Linked DNA regions of Homo sapiens: all the other regions are linked to region 1. Evidence: promoter capture Hi-C in 16 types of primary human blood cells and fetal thymus (Javierre and others, 2016). All regions are on one chromosome and are shown on one strand. The core of a region is centred on a gene start or on the middle of the fragment in contact, and the rest is flanking DNA. Distances in the headings are between cores, read along the strand shown. Region 1 holds the start of SLIT3-AS2 (SLIT3 antisense RNA 2). Region 2 overlaps LOC105377714 (a long non-coding RNA gene). Region 3 has its middle 18 kb from the start of SLIT3. Region 4 holds the start of SLIT3 (slit guidance ligand 3).

Region 1 (3,990 bases), core at 484-2,983:
CGTAACATGTACCTGAGCAGTTTTCTGTCCATTGTCAGCATCATCGCTGTGTCCTCTGGGGCCATCCATTTCTTTCTTCCAAGGTTTTCCAGGGGGGACTTCCTCTGTGTGCCTTTGGCCCAAGCACTGTGCCCTGCTTAGCCTGGCACAGACTATTCCATGGGGAGGGGTGTTTGTGGGTAGAAAAATGGGAGGTCCGAATGGAGCCTGGGCCCAGAGCTTCCTGGAATATGAAAAGATACACAGGGGGTTTCTAATTATGGTGCATTGTTTGCAGATTAGCACCAAAATCGGATCAGGCTAATTACAGTAATTGATTTGACTGCAGAAGTGTTTCTGAATGATGTCCCACTGTGATTTTTCCTCACTGGACAGTGGCTGAATTAATGGGACTCTAGCTGGACTGGATGTGCTGGCTGAGGAGAGCCAGCTGCCATCTGGGCATGGAGTTGGGAAGGGGCTGGCGCTGGCTGAGGGAGGGCCCAGAGCAGAGGGGAAGGGAGGTATGGCAGTGAGCGCACTCAGGACCTGCCATCAGTACTCTGGTTTTGCTGCCCAGGGCCAGTGGACATCAACATTGTGGCCAAATGCAATGCCTGCCTCTCCAGCCCGTGCAAGAATAACGGGACATGCACCCAGGACCCTGTGGAGCTGTACCGCTGTGCCTGCCCCTACAGCTACAAGGTATGCTGGAGGCCCTGCCCCCCCGTGTTCATGCCTCAGGCTCCTCCTTCAGCCCTGGCCCTAGAGAGGGGCACCATGCCCTGCGTACCCTCCCTTCTCCAAGGGACAGCCTGGATGAGTCCATCGCACAGGTCACCACTCCAAAGCAGCATTTGCCAGTAACACTGTTCTCTGAACTAGCGGGAGCTGCCAGTCAGAGAGGCCCCCATATGGTCTTGACAAGGATGTCCAGAGAGAAAGAGGAAATGTAACATTTGTATTTTCTTTGTGAAACATGGAGAAATTAAGTCTCAGAGAAAAAGTGTTTCCAAGTAGAGGCATCCCTTGAGCCCACTCTCCCAATTTCCCTTCTAAAGGGATTTCCAGAACCTCCACCCCACCATGCCCCTGCCAAACCCCACCCTCAGAGCAACCAGCCTTGAAAGTGCTGGTTCCAGCTTGATGTAAATATAGGGATTGGGGATTGAAAGGCCTAGGGGCTGCAAACTCACCCAAAAGGTTGATCGGCTAAGATCAGCCAGCAAGAGGATGAGATCCCAGTTCTCCCCTCTGTCCTCCCAGACTACCTCCAAGACAGTCCTTCCTTCTTTCACCCAGAGCACGGTGTCATGCCCCTCTGCTGACCCCTGTGGATATCGACCATGTGCCTCTCACCAGCACCTACCGAGTACAGACTGTGCCAAGTACTGTGCTTGGCATTTTACTCACCTGTTCAAACACCCCCAGCAAACCTAAGAAGGCCTCATTATTCCCTTTTTACGGATATGGAGACTGGGCCTCAGACTGTCAAGAGTTCAACTCAATGTCCGAAGCTTGTAAGCAGTAGAGCTGTGATTAAGACCCTGGGCTTTGTGATTCCAGAACCCAATCCTTTTCCCCTGGAGGGTTTCCTGGATAGCTGAGCCCTTCCTTGGGCTTCACTGGAATCAGCAAAGCTGTGGCTCCATCCTCTTCTGCAGGGCCCGCCCAGCTTCCAGCCTTCCCAGGGCACCCATCCAAAGGCACTGGGCAAGCGCAGAGTTTCAGGACAGCCCCACAGCCTGTCTAATGCACACATCTGATGCAGGTGGAGTGAGAGTGAGCTGGCATCCCCAGGTCTCTGCCCCCAGTGGGATTGTGTGTGCGTAGTGACAGGCTTAGAGGCAGCCTCATTCTGGGGAATGGGACTACCTGATGTATTTCTAGACGATGGCTGTGCTTCTAGCAGATGGTGTCAGAGTGCCACCTATGGGCCTGGGACAAGAGAGCCAAAGGATTCCCTTTGAAGCCAGCCACCTCCAAAGTCTTAAACTTACCACTGAGTCCCAGACCCATACACCGTCATTTCATAAGCTGATTATAAAAATCAGAGAAGAGACTAAATGCATAAGGTCCAGATGAGTGCCTGGCCTTTACTGATGATTCAAAAGAGAACTATACTATGTATGGAATTGAGAATGTTATAAATTCAGTCACAGGGCACCCACACACACAAAAAAAATAATAGGAGGGGAGAATAGAGATTAACAGCAGACATACTCAGGATGTGTGGATCCTCTCAAACTCCCTTGTATGGATTCAGCAGAGAAAATTCAGACTGTGCAATTACACAGAGAAGCAGGTGTGGATTCCAGCTTTGTCATTTACTAGCTGTGTAGCCATTGCTAGTAATTTCATCTGTCTTCCCAGCTGCAAACTAGGACCTGTCTCATAGGTTTGCCGTAAGAATCAAATGTACAGTAATGTACGCAATACACTAGGATGATACCTGGCATTCAGTGAGCACTCAATAAGCTGGCATACTGCTGCCTTTCACCTTTACCCTTGCATGGTGGTCCCTCATACCTGGGTGTGGAATAGGCCATCAGTAACAGGTGGTATGTTGCTAGTTTGATCCAGGATTATCAGTCTATGGCACTGTGAACTGCCAAGAAACTTCAGTCATTCTCCTAGAACTGTGACTGCATTTGTAACATTCTCAATTCCATACATAGTATAGTTCTCTTTTGAATCATCAATAAAGGCCAGGCACTCATCTGGAGCTTATGCATTTATTTTCTTCTCTGATTTTTATAATCAGCTTATGAGATGGGTAGTATCATCCCCATTCTAAAGATAAGGTAAACTGTTTCACATTCTGATTCTTGCTTCCTTCTCTTTAAAACTGGCCTGAGTCTGAAAGTAGTAGAGCTGGGTTTGAAGTCCAGGCTTCTTCCAGCTACACTTGACTGTACTATGAAGCATGACCTGACCGTCAGTGTCAGAGCAAAGAGAGTATCTTCAGAGCTACTGCAGGATAAGGCCACTTGTTTGAACTTTGTTCTCAAGATTCTGAACATCATGTCAATTTTAGAAGAATGTGAACAGAGATTTTGATCTTGAGGAAAGTGTTGAGCCCAGGCAGGTCTAGGGTGCATGATGTTGATGGTGATGGTGAAGATGATGATGGTGAAGGTGATGATGGTGATGGTATCGGTGATGATGACAAAGGTGACAATGGTGATGGTGTTGATGATGGTAATGGTGCTAATGGTACAGATGGTGGTGATGATGATGATAACTATGATAATAACAGTAACATAAGAGCCAGCATTTATTGAGTATCTACTATGTACTGACAGTAGACTAAATAAGGTACATGTATTATCTTGCATACTCCTCATCAGAGCCCTAGAATACAGTTCCTAAAATGACCCTCATTTTACAGTTGAAGAAACTGAGCATGGTAGGTAAGGGAGTTGGGATTCAAAGCTCAGAACCAACTGACTCTAGAAGCTGTGCTCCTGGCCACTGCACTCACTGCCTGTTGGCAAGTGCAGTGATTGCAGGGGCTAAGGTGGAAGATCCCTGACTATTTAGGACCTGTCTGAATTTCCAGGTTAGAGACAAGTAGAGTGTAGCCATGGGAAGAACACCAAGCAGGACCCTCTGGAGCCTGTGCCTATGTGATGCATGACCTTGGACAGAACTCGCTCTTCTCCTCACCTCAGTTTCCTCAGCTGTAAAATGGAGGAGGTTGAACCCAAGGGATCCTTTAACTGAGGGTTGCATCAAATTCTCTGTGCTATGTCCCTGCTTTCCTTCTTGCCGGGGTTAGAGCCCGCCCAAACAGAGCGACTAAGATGGTAGTTCTGCATGAGTGGCTAACAGAAATCCCCAGATACCCACAAAACCAAGCTCAAAGTTCAGGCATTTACCTCTTTCCAGGTATCTCCATTTTCCCATTGACTAGCTGAGTGACCTTGGGAAGCCACAATATTATAAAAAAGCACAGGAATCACTGTGTAACATTTGGTAGCAGCTACTCTTAATCTACTATAATGCCAG
Region 2 (3,990 bases), core at 722-3,221, 860 kb before region 1:
TTCTCAACAACTTTGAATCTGGGTTGGCCTTGTAATGCACCTTGACTAATGAATGTGGCAAAAATAATGTGGGATTCTAAACCCATGCCTTGTAATTCCTAGGCAAAAGAATCGTCTAGCTGAACCTAATCCATGTTGCTGACATTACCAATTCATAAGTAAATAACACCACTAAATTTTGAGTGGTTTACCGTGCAGTGACAGCTAGCTAACATAGTAATGTGTTTTTTAAAATCCCTAACCTGGATCTTTATATATAACGAACATGAAACTTTTAGCTTCCTGTCCAAAGGACTGAACTCACAAGGCATGAGACATTTTATAACCCTGAGGGTGAGTGTCAGTAGCTGGGGTTTGTGTGGAAGTAGTATTCCATGACATTCATTCTAACCAAGAGCCTTCTGTGGCTGAATTATATATTCCAGCTCAAGTTCTAAAGGATACTGATCCTTGGTCTAAGATGATAGTTCCTAAGCTTTACTGGGTTACAGTCTCCTTTGAGAATCTGATGAAATCTATAAGAATTCTTCCCAGAAAAAATAATGTACATGTACACAGCCCCCTTGCTACACACACACACACACACACACACACGCACACACAGATCTCTATCTACCTATAGATTGTGTGTGTGTGTGTGTGTGTGTGTGAGAGAGAGAGAGAGAGAGAGAGAGAGAGAGAGAGAGGCTTGCTTATATCATAGGGTTTATGGACTAGCCAGTGCATGGATACCAGTTAAGAAACTCTACTGGGTGCTGTGGCTCAAGCCTATAATCCCAGCTACTTGGGAGGCTTAGGTGGGAGGATCACTTGAGCCCAGGGGTTCAAGACCAGCCTGGGCAACATAGCAAGACCCCTTTCCTTAAAAGAAAATTTTTTAATTGGCTGGGTGTGGTGGTGCATGCCTGTAGTCCCGGCTACTTAGGAGGCTGAGGCAGGAGGATTGCTTGGGTCCAGGAGTTCAAGGCTGCAGTGAGCTATGATTGTGGCACTGCACTCCATGTACTCCAGCCTGGGCCACAGAGCAAGACCGTCTCTTAAAAAAAAAAGGAGAAGAAGAGAGGGAGGAGGATGAAGAAAGCAGAAGAAGATGAAGAGGAAGAAGGAGAAGGAAGAGGAAGTAGGAGGAGGAGAAGAAGAAAGAGGAAAGAAGAAGAAAGAAGGAAGAAGTAGGAGGAGGAGAAGAAGAAGGGAAGAAGAAGAAACAAGGAAGTAGAAGAGGAAGAGGAGGAGGAGAGGGAGTGGGAGGAGGAGGGGAGGAAAGGGAAGGAGAAGGAGGAGAATAAACTCTGGTCTTACTTGAGCAGACCTCTACTTGTATACCCAAAATTGCATACTCAACTCTAACTGCCAAATAATCTGTTTGCCAGATATTTATTTCCATTGCTGTTGCTGTTGCAGCTACTTCTGAAAGAGGAGTAACTGTTGGTATGGGTTTCTGGCTGCATTTTAGGTTTAGGGTCTAAAACCTCCTTGAGCAGTGCTTGGTTTAACCAGATTTGGTTCAGGGTCTTTTGAAGCTCTGGGTTCATTCTTCCACCTCCCACCCCTTGACCTTCATTTAACCCAAGCATTGAGCAATATAATGCTCAGGAAGTTAGTTGGCAGCTGCCAGCAGGACCTCCGCAGCTGTACCTTACCATGCTACTGGCGCTGTCCAATGTGCTGGATCCTTCCACCATGTCTTGGCCTGTGTGCTTCTTGAAGATTTCAGTTGATAATTTATTGGCATAGGTAGGCTGTAAATATTGCCTTGGTTCATATTTTATCACTGCTTGATTGCTGTCTAGGCTCTTTATTTACCACACATTAGTTTGTTCATGGTCCTATTGATGGAGAAGGCTAGCCCTTTGGCCACTGAGTCTATACCTTGCTAATACCCCATAGGGCCAGAGGTCTCCAGGAATAGGTGAAGGTGGAAGGAAGCAAGAATATGTTGAGGACAAGAGAGGCAGCCCCAAACTCAGGTGAACTGAGAAGTTGGAATGCCTCTAAGATTGATATTAAAGTAACTTTATTGTTCAAAAAAAGAGACAAATGAAAGTCATAGATTATTAATAAACCTACAGTAGTACCCACCCCACATCACTGTCTTTCCTCTTACTTTGCTTTAGTCTTTGTAATAGCACTTACCACCTTGCATAACAATGCATGTTTTTGTTGTTGTTTGACTTCCTTCATTATAATGTAAGCCCTATTAGACCATGGGCTTAATTCACTGTTCCATCTCCAGAACAGTGGCTGGCACATTGTAGGTGCTCAGTAATTATTTTAATTACTCTTTGAACAAATGGATGAACAATCGAATGAACTGAAGGTACTAAATGGGTATTTTCCAAAGTTTTTTTTTCAAAATTTGTGCATGTAAGAATCTCCTAGAAAGGGCCTTTACAAGATGGAGCTATCTGGGATATATCTTTAAAGACTCATCTTTAGTGTCTGGAGGATTAAATTCCAGAATTGGATATTTAAGCTCTTTGAGTGATGCTGAGGCAAGTGGTCCTAGGAAAGTTGAAAAGTTGACTTATGTGATTCATACCCCCACAAAGATGCATACCAGGAATACTTAGCAAAACAGTAGTCTCATTTTTTCTCCTTGACAATTCAGGGCATGTCAAAATAATAAGTCGAATATAATCAAAATAAAAAATGATCAAATAGATAACTCAGTAACTCATTCTCATTTAAAATAGCTTTCTTCTGTTTTTTTTCCCCACATCTTTTTACTATTCCCTTTTCATAGACTTTTCTAAACAGATGCACATCTCACAAAGGCTGAAAATTCCTCTTAACCAGCTATTTCTTTCAAACTGAGAAAAATTTGGTAGCAGTCATTGAGAATGCAAAAAGAAATGTTTGGAATATTGTCAGACTCCCTTTTGCTGTTGGACTCTTTAATTTAAAGGGCATATAAGTCACCTGACCCCTACAACAAAAAATCCATTAAGCCTCTAAGGACACAATCAAATGATTCATTAAAAATATGAATGATTGGCTGGGTGCAGTGGCTCACGTGTGTAATCCCAGCACTTTGGGAAGTTGAGGCGGGTGGATCACCTGAGGTCAGGAGTTCGAGACCAGCCTGGCCAACATGGTGAAACCCCGTCTCTACTAAAAATACAAAAAAATTAGCCAGGCGTGGTGGTGCATGCCTGTAATCCCAGCTACTCAGGAGGCTGAGGCAGGAGAATCACTTGAATCCGGGAGGCGGAAGTTGCAGTGAGCCGAGACCACACCGTTGCACTCCAGCCTGGGCCACAAGAACCAAACTCCATCTCAATGTATATATGAATGATTAAAAAACACTTAGAAAATTTTAAACCTTTTTACATATTAAAGAAACGTGAATTAAAAGAGTAATGAGAATTCTCACTGCTGGTTTGGCAAAAATTAATGTCTAGAATGGGAAAATAGACCTTCCTTTACCCAAAAACAGGCAATTCCTACATGGCTTTGAACAAGCTTTCTAAAGAGCAGCTTGAAATTAATTGTCAAAATTTAAAGTGTGGATATCCTTTGGCCCAACAATTATATTTGAGGGAATGTATCCTTAGGACATTATTTGACAAGATGTATTTTCAAGGATATTAATGGATGGGCCATTTATCAAATCAAATATTTTAAGATAATTTGAATATCTACCAATTCAAGATTAATAAAATTAGTTGACATATTTCCATACAATAAAACTGGCTGACATTTATAGAGCTCTATTATTTGCCTGTCACTCTACTAAGTGCATTACAAGGATTAACTAGCTTAATTTGCACAACAATCCTGTACATAGATAGTATTATTATCTCATCTTAAATATGACAAAATTGAACCACAAAGAAGTTATGCAGCTGATAAGTGGTCACGTTAGGGGTGACACCCAGATGGTCTGGGGTGATCTGTGTTCTTAACAATGATACTTCATAATGGGATATAACACAGCAACCATATGCAGAGGGAACGAGGATATATTCGGTAGATGAAAGCAGATTTCAG
Region 3 (3,990 bases), core at 597-3,096, 610 kb before region 1:
TACTGTTACCAATGGAATAGGATGCAAACATAGGTTGAGTTCTGAGGGCCAGTGAGGGAGTAATTTCAGGGGAAATAAAAGGGAAGAAATCACAAAACAGACTCAATTACTGAGAGTAATTATTATCAGCTATGAAAATGCATTTACAAGTCACACTGCTATATGTCAGCACCCTGATACCTCCTAGGCCATGAGAAATAAACAGTAACATTTTTGAGACTTCTTCTTCAACCCAGTCAACAAACATTCCATTGCAAAGTAAGAAAAGAGGGCAGGGCATGAATTTAAAAGCAAATTGTTCCACCATTGTCTGGAGTCTGGTGTCTGCTTCTTTCTGAAAAGATTATTGACTCTTTTCTGTTTCTTTTATTAAATGTCATATTCATTTAAGTGTTATGCAAGTTGCCAGTGTGTATGGAGCATAGTAATAGATGTTTTTCATAAATGCGTTTTATCTTTATTTATCAGTGACACAAAATGGCAAGTGATAATCAAAGCAATGACTTAGGAATCCTGACCAAGACAATCTTTCCATGGAAAAGGATCATTTTTAAGAAAATAATAATAGTGGCTACAATTTTTAAAATGAGAAAACTGAGGTTTAGGTGAGTTTTGTTTGCTTTTGTAAGGTTGATTGAAATATTTACAGATGGGAAAATGTGTCCTTTTTAAGAGTATACTGTGATGAGTTTTGAAAAGTGTATACAGTTGTGTAATTAAAATCATAACTAAGCTATAGAACATTTCCATCACGCAAATGTCCTTATGTCTTTTTATAGCCTATTATCTCTCCTCTCCACCACTCTCTAGCAAGCAAAAATCTAGTTTTGGGTCTGCTTTTTGCCTTTTCAGAATGCAATATAAATGTAAGAGAATTTGTAACTTTTGTGCCTTCTTTCACTAACAGAATGTTTTTCAGATTCATCTATGTTGTTGCCTGTATCAATGCTTTATGTTTACTGCTAAGTTATGTTCCATTAAATTCATGTACCACAAATTGGCTGTCCACTCACCAACTGATGACCATTTGAGTTGTTTCTTTTTTTTTTGAGAAGGAATCTCTCCCTGTCGCCTAGGCTGGAGTGCAATGGCATGATCTTGGCTCATGCAATTTCTGCCTCCCATTTTCAAAAGATTCTCCTGCCTCAGCCTCCTGAGTAGCTGGGTTTACAGGCACCTGCCACCATGCCCAGCTAATTTGTGTATTTTTAGTAGAGACGGGGATTCTCCATGTTAGCCAGGCTGGTCCTGGTCTTGAACTCCTGACCTCGTGATCCGCCTGCCTCGGCCTCCCAAAGTGCTGGGATTACAGGTGTGAGCCACCGCGCCCAGCCTGAGTTTTTCTATCATTTAATTATTATAAATAAAACTTCCATAAGCAGCTCTATTCAGGTCTTCTGTGGACATACGGTTTTGATTTTTCATGGTTAAAATATTAGGAGTGGGGTTTCTGGGTCATATAGTAGCTGAATGCATAACTTTACTAGAAACTGCCAAAGATGTTATCACTTTGCATTCCCATCAGTAATGTGTAGGAAGTTTCCAGTTGCTCTACATCTTCAACAGCACTTTTAAAATTTTAGCCATTCTAAAGGGTATGTGGTGGTATCTCATTGTAGTTTTAATTTGCATTTCCCTGATGATTAATGATGTTTAATTTCTTTTTATGTGTTTATTTGCCATCTATATTTCTTCTTTGATGAAGTGTCTATTCAAGCTTTTACCCATTCTTTTTATTGAGTTGCTTGTCTTACTGATTTTTGAGAGTTCTTTATATGTTATGGACACAAACCCCTTGTCAGATAAATGTTTTGCAAATATTTTCTCTTGGACTGTAATTTGTCTTCTTATTTTTGTAATATCTTTCAAAGAACAGATGTTTTAAATTTTGATTAACTCCAGTTTATTATTTTCTTCTGCTTTGATTTGTGCTTTCTGTATCTTATTTTTAAAATCTTTGCCTAACTCAAGCTTGAAAAGATTTTCTGTGTCTTCTTCTAGAAGTTTTTATACATTTAGCACATATATATATACCATTTCAAGTGAATGTTTGCATATGGTGCAGAAAAAAAGGGCCAAGGTTAGTTCTTCAGCCTATAGATAGCTAATTGTTCCAGCATCCACTGCCGAAAAGATTTGTATTCCTTAAACTACATTGGCATTTTGGTTGGAATGGAACATATATATATGTGTTTATTTCTGAACTCTTGATTCTATTCTTTTACTTTTTAAAATTTTTTATCATTTTTAAAAATGAAATTTATCATATATATTTTAGGTGTATAACGTGATGTTATGGGATGCATACAGATAGTAAAATGGTTACTCTAGTGAAGCAAATTAATAATTCATCATCTCACATAGTTACCCTTTTTTGTTGTTATTTTTGGGGCAATACAGTTAAAATCTACTCATTTGGCAGGAATCCCACATATAGCACAATTTTATTTTATTACCTATAGTTTTCATGTTGGATATAAATCTCTAGACTTGTTCAACTTACATATCTACTACTTTGCATTCTCTGACCTACTTCTTCCTGCTTCCTCCCTCCAACCCTGCCCCTAGTAACAACTGTCTTATCTCTGTATATTTGACTCTTTTCTTTTATTTTTCAGATTCCACATATGAGTGAGATCATGCAGGATTTTTCTTTCTGTGTCTGGCTTATTTCACTTAGCGTTATATCTTTCAGATTCATCCTTGTTGTGGCAAATGGCAAGATCTCCTTATCTAAGGCTGAGTAATATTCCATGGTGTCTATATATACCACATTTTTTTAATCCATTCATTGATGAACACTTGGGTTGTTTCCACATTTTGACTGTTTGAATAATGCGCAATGAACATGGGAGTGCAGGTATCTTTATGAGATGGTGATTTCATTTGCTTTGGGGATATGCCCAGAAGAGGAATTACTAGGTTATGTGGTGGTTATATTTTTAATTTCTGTAGAAGTCTCTTTACTGTTTTCCATAATAGCTGTACCACTCAACAGTCCCACCAAAAGTGTACAAGGGTTCCCTTTTCTCCACATTTTCTTGCCAGTATTTGTTATCATTTGACTTTTTGATAATAGCCATCCTAATGGGTGTCAGGTGGTACCTTACAGGGTTTTCATTTGCATTTTCTTGAAGATTAATAATATTGATCACTTTTTTTATATCCATGTTAACCATTTTTATGTCTTCTCTGGAAAAATGTCTGTTCAGGTCCTTTGCCTATTTTTAATTGGATTATTTGTTTTTCTACTATTGAGTTGTATATGTTCTTTATAAATTTTAAATATTAACCCATTACCAGATACATAGTTTGTAAATACTTTTCCCAATCTGTAGGCTGCTGTTATATTGGCTTTATTCTCTCAATCTCTGTGTCTCTCTTTTACCCAATACCACACTCTCTTGATTACTATAGCTTTATGATAAGTCTTAAAACCAGGTAATGTGAATCCTCTAACTCTGTTCTTCTTATTCACAATTACCTATTTTAGTTCTTTTGGGTCTTTTGTTCTTCTATATAAATTTTAGAATACTCTGTCAATCTCCAAAAAGAAATATTATGTTGGGATATTGATTGGAATGGCATTGAACATATAGAGCAATTTGAGAAAACTGACATCTTAACAACATAGAGTCTTCCAATCCATGAGCACAGTTACATCAATCATTTTATAAGCTCATTTTAGTTTCATCAAAATTTTGTCATATTCAGCATCAAATCTTGCACATATTTAGTTTTCCCCTAAATATTTCATGTCCTTTAATGCTATTGTAAATGATACTGTTTTGTAATTTCGATTTCCAGTTATTCACTCCCAATATCTAAGACGGCAATTTATTTTCATACATTGACCGTATCTTCTTATATACGACAACTTTACTAAACTCAATTAGTAGAATCTTTTCAAAAAGTTTTATTTGGATAATTTTAATGAGCACAAGAGCCGTTTTGTTACATGGAGATATTGTATAGTGGTGAAGTCTGGGC
Region 4 (3,990 bases), core at 976-3,475, 590 kb before region 1:
CAATTCTCCAAGAGGGGTGAAGGTGAGTAGCATTTCTCAATCTGTCTTTGCCCAAGGAGACTTTTTTCTCCTCCATGATGAAACATGTGGAATCAGTAGTCATCAGAAGGCACTTGTAGAAATGTTGGATTAGGTGATTTCTAAGGCTGTACCAGCCCAAACACTCCATGATTCTGTGTATCCTGGTGTTCTGGGCCCCTCCTGTATTTCCCACTTGCCTCCTCCTTGGGGATGATTGACTCTGAAGGAAATCCTCACCATCTGTTCTAAGGGGCTTCTCCCAGGAAAAGTCACACTTGAATGCCTATAAAGTCCCTTAAAGATACAGTCTGGCTCATGAAACCCCCCTGAGCAGCTTAAATGGAAAACGCAGTCCCCCACTGCGCTCAGAGCACAGATCCAGGACCAGCCCGAAGGGATTGCAAAACATGCTCTAGCATGCATTTGGGAAAACAAAGAAAACCGTACTGTTTTCTGCTCCAGACAGTCTGAGACGCTTTGTGCCCTTGGGCCCTTGCCCGGTTCTCTCATCTGCCTCAGTCCTGGTACTAAATTGGTTCAAGGTTTGGAGGAAAGCTTCAGAGCAAAGGGATAAAAGGATGTTTAGAGTTCTTAAATACCGAAGTCACCCTGAAGACCGGAGCATAGACCCTCGCCAGCCACCAGGGGGCGATAACAACAGCATCTGTACAGAAAGCCGTTCCCAAGAATAACAGCAGTAAATTGCACCTAATGTGTTTATGAATGATGAAGGGACTCGAGTGTGTGTGTTTGAGTGAGTGTGCGTATGTGTGTGTTTGTGTGTACGCGCGCGCAAGTGGGTGCCCAAAGCTAAGACTTTGAAAATCTGCTAAGTATAATACAATAAAATCTACAACTCTACTATATATTCACAGGATGTGGTCAAGTAGTTGAAAGTTTCCTTGAAGGAAAATGAGGTAGAAGAAATCAGAATAGTATTCTTATGAAAGAAAAGAGAAGCGCTCTCAGGAGTATAGTTGTCACTATGTGAGTGTGTGTGCGAGCATGCATGTACACGTGTGTGTGATTGCCGGTGTATAAATGGGTGTGTGTGAGCCTGAGTATGTGAGAGTGTGTGCGTGGCTGTGAATACGTAGGCACCAGTGTGTGTGTATATATATGCAGGGCTCATTCAGGCCTTCTCAGTGTGAGGGGACCTCAAGGAAATCTGGGCAATACTTCCTCCAGTTCCTGCCCTTTCCTTTCAAACAAACAAACAAAATCATTCCTACAAGTATTTATGGAGCCTCTAACGCACACGCCCCTCCCCACTGGCATCTGGAAAAGCTCAGACCTAGCCAATTTAAAGCGGGCGCTGGAAGAAAGAAGGCGCTGGGGACAGAAGGGATGCCTCGTCTGCGAATGACTTTTGCAAAAACACGTTCTCTTCTGTGATGCTCCAAACAACCCAGGGAGGTGAGGCCAGGTAGGACTGTGGCCCCGGATTTGAGAAAACGAAGGCTCAGAGATGACACGATTGGCCCAGAGTCACCCAGTCAGGAAGCAGAAACCCGAGGATGGAACAAGGCATTGTCAATCCAGGGGTCCAAGTCGCTGCCATCACTACTTTTACCAGTCCACCAAGCGCTGGGTCTGGGCAAAGCAGGGCAAGTTTCCGGGTAAGGTTTGCCAGCAGTGACCTCAACAACATGGACCACGGTGTGTGTGTGTGTGTAGCTGTGGAGTACATTGGTGTCAACCAAGGCTCTTCAGGCAAAATTGTGGATCTCTGCCATGAGTACTAGGTGCGGTAGGGAAGCGGCTTCGTGGGCGACACTGCCATGGTTTGGCGTCCCTAGCAGCTGTGCGACCTCCAGCAAGTCGCTTCACTTCTCTGAGCTGTTTTCAGACGACCCCTTGGAAGATCGTGGACTTAAGTAAAGAATATGAGTAGAGTGCTCAGCTCAGTGCAAAAATTAAAAAAAAAAAAGTGTCAGGAGCCTTATCCGTCCTTGGATCTTAACAGTGAATGAGTTTCAGTGTTTCTTTCCAGGGGCCCTGCTGGCCGAGCCCCTTTCCTTCCCTGGTTCCTTCTCTCTCCCTCCTCTACTGCCTCCTCCCTCCAGGCTCTCGGTCGCTCCAGCAAAGTTCCCAACTTAGTCGACATGACGCGCGGCGCAGCCAATGGGAGGCGGAGTTGGCGTTTCTTGGTCGGGGGGGGGCCGGAGGGGTGGGCCCCGCGTCTCCGGTGTCTGCCGTGCTCACTGAATGGAGAGAGCGAGCGCCGGCCAGCTCACCCGGCCGCCCCGTGCCCCAGCCGCAGCCGCCGCGCTCCCCAGCCCAGCCCCAAGCCGGACCTCCCCGGGCGCCACGCCCCATTGCGCTCGCCCCAGGTCCCCAACCCGGCCCGCGGGCCAGCGGGGCCAGGGGGCGCTCCGCACCTGGGCACTCCCAGCGATGCGCAGCGGGGCAGCGCCGGCCCCGCCGATGGAGCTGCTGTTGCTGCCGCCGCCGCCGCCCGGAGCGCCCCGCTCCGCCCGCGCCCCGTGCGCCTGAGCACCGAGCTCGCCCCTCCTCCGCGCTAACTCCGCCGCCCGCTCCCCAGGCCGCCCGCGCTCCCCGCGCGCCTCCTCGGGCTCCACGCGTCTTGCCCCGCAGAGGCAGCCTCCTCCAGGAGCGGGGCCCTGCACACCATGGCCCCCGGGTGGGCAGGGGTCGGCGCCGCCGTGCGCGCCCGCCTGGCGCTGGCCTTGGCGCTGGCGAGCGTCCTGAGTGGGCCTCCAGCCGTCGCCTGCCCCACCAAGTGTACCTGCTCCGCTGCCAGCGTGGACTGCCACGGGCTGGGCCTCCGCGCGGTTCCTCGGGGCATCCCCCGCAACGCTGAGCGCCTGTGAGTACCCCTGCCCCACCCCACGCGGGCCACCCACCTGGGTCCCACCGAGGGGGCCCCAGGCGCCAGATCCGTCCTTTCCCCTCGGCCTCCCTGGATGCAGTCTCTATTCTCATCCCTTCCTGGATACGATCCCTCACTCTCCGAGCTGGGGGTCTGTAGGCTTGGTCAGATCTGGAAAGAGAGGTCTCGAAACCCCCAGCGATGGGCAAAGAGCAGTGCCTCTCCAGGGGTGAGGGTTCCAGACGCAGGGCCCGCTGACAGCTTCCAAGGAGTAGCTGAGGAGAGGCGAGGGGAGGCAAGAGCACTGCAGCCTCAAGGTCTTAGGGTGAGGGTCAGGGGTCTGCGCTCGTTAAAAAGGGGGGCGGGCGAAGGAGAAAGCTATAGGATGATGGGCCGTCAAGGCGCGGAGGCGGGAGAGAGGGCCCGAGACTGTTGACCTGCTTGGAGATCAGAATGGGCCAGCCGCTCTCTGGCTGCCCTTGCAAGGAAAGTTGAGAGTGTGGGTGAAGGTTTAACTTCTGAGGAACTGGACAGATTCAGAGTGGGTGCTCGCAAAACCCGCTCTGCCTGGAGCGCAGTCTGGGAGATGCCAAGTTGCAGCCCCGGGTGAATTTTTTATGGCTCGGTTATAAATGCCTCCCCGAACGAAGGGGCCGGAGAATGGAAATGCTGACAGCCCTTCAAATGAGACCGAGCGTTATAATCTTACAAACCGCACTCAGCCTCAGATCCTGGGCTTGGCAGCGAATGGAGAGGCGCTTGGAGAATGGGGTGGATTGACCCTAGTTTTAGCCCCAATTGTGCAACCAAATATTTACTTTTCATATGTCAACGTTTTGGAAACATTTATCATTTTGATCCTCGGACCAGATTCAAAACTTGGACTCCGGGGTGGGCTCCTCTTAGTCCGCAGTTGGGGTGGGGTAAGGGAGTGGGGGAGAAACGCTGGAGTGGGTGGGAAGCCTTACTGGGAACCCAGCCGAGAAGTGGGTGAGGGTTTGCTCTAGTGTGGTAGATTCCCTCCGTGTCTTGCTCTCCCTCTTCTCCCCTTCCTCATGTGCCTTAGGGGTAGGCGCCTGGATCTTCCACTCTGCTTTCTTGACTTCAGGCTGGAAGAGAGTAGTGATGACAAGCAT

The links. The method cuts DNA at HindIII sites, captures the fragments that hold promoters and counts their contacts. A CHiCAGO score of 5 or more calls a contact.
Region 2: a contact is called between a fragment that was not itself captured here and the fragment with the promoter of SLIT3-AS2 in region 1, in 3 of 17 cell types (M1 macrophages, endothelial precursors and M2 macrophages). The highest score is 7.4, in M1 macrophages.
Region 3: a fragment that was not itself captured here is called in contact with the fragment with the promoter of SLIT3-AS2 in region 1 in 2 of 17 cell types (M0 macrophages and M1 macrophages); the score reaches 5.7 in M0 macrophages.
Region 4: the fragment with the promoter of SLIT3 here is called in contact with the fragment with the promoter of SLIT3-AS2 in region 1 in 7 of 17 cell types (M0 macrophages, M2 macrophages, M1 macrophages and 4 more); the score reaches 14.6 in M0 macrophages.

Annotation. Positions count from the first base shown.
Region 1 is chr5:168,704,670-168,708,659 of GRCh38, reverse strand. It overlaps SLIT3-AS2 (SLIT3 antisense RNA 2), which reads right to left and starts at 1,733. Exons shown (of 7, transcript NR_130737.1): 1 at 1,393-1,733; 2 at 13-223. SLIT3 (slit guidance ligand 3) reads left to right here. Exons shown (of 36, transcript NM_003062.4): 26 at 560-684. The HindIII fragment of the contact is 12,206 bases long and covers 1,499-3,990 here.
Region 2 is chr5:169,564,934-169,568,923 of GRCh38, reverse strand. All of the region lies in intron 2 of LOC105377714 (a long non-coding RNA gene), which reads left to right. Among named protein-coding and RNA genes, the nearest start is that of SPDL1, 17 kb to the left of the region's middle. The HindIII fragment of the contact is 2,987 bases long and covers 478-3,464 here.
Region 3 is chr5:169,317,439-169,321,428 of GRCh38, reverse strand. No RefSeq gene overlaps it. Among named protein-coding and RNA genes, the nearest start is that of SLIT3, 18 kb to the right of the region's middle. The HindIII fragment of the contact is 254 bases long and covers 1,720-1,973 here.
Region 4 is chr5:169,299,374-169,303,363 of GRCh38, reverse strand. SLIT3 (slit guidance ligand 3) reads left to right here and starts at 2,225. Exons shown (of 36, transcript NM_003062.4): 1 at 2,225-2,851. The coding sequence starts at 2,655. The HindIII fragment of the contact is 7,800 bases long and covers 579-3,990 here.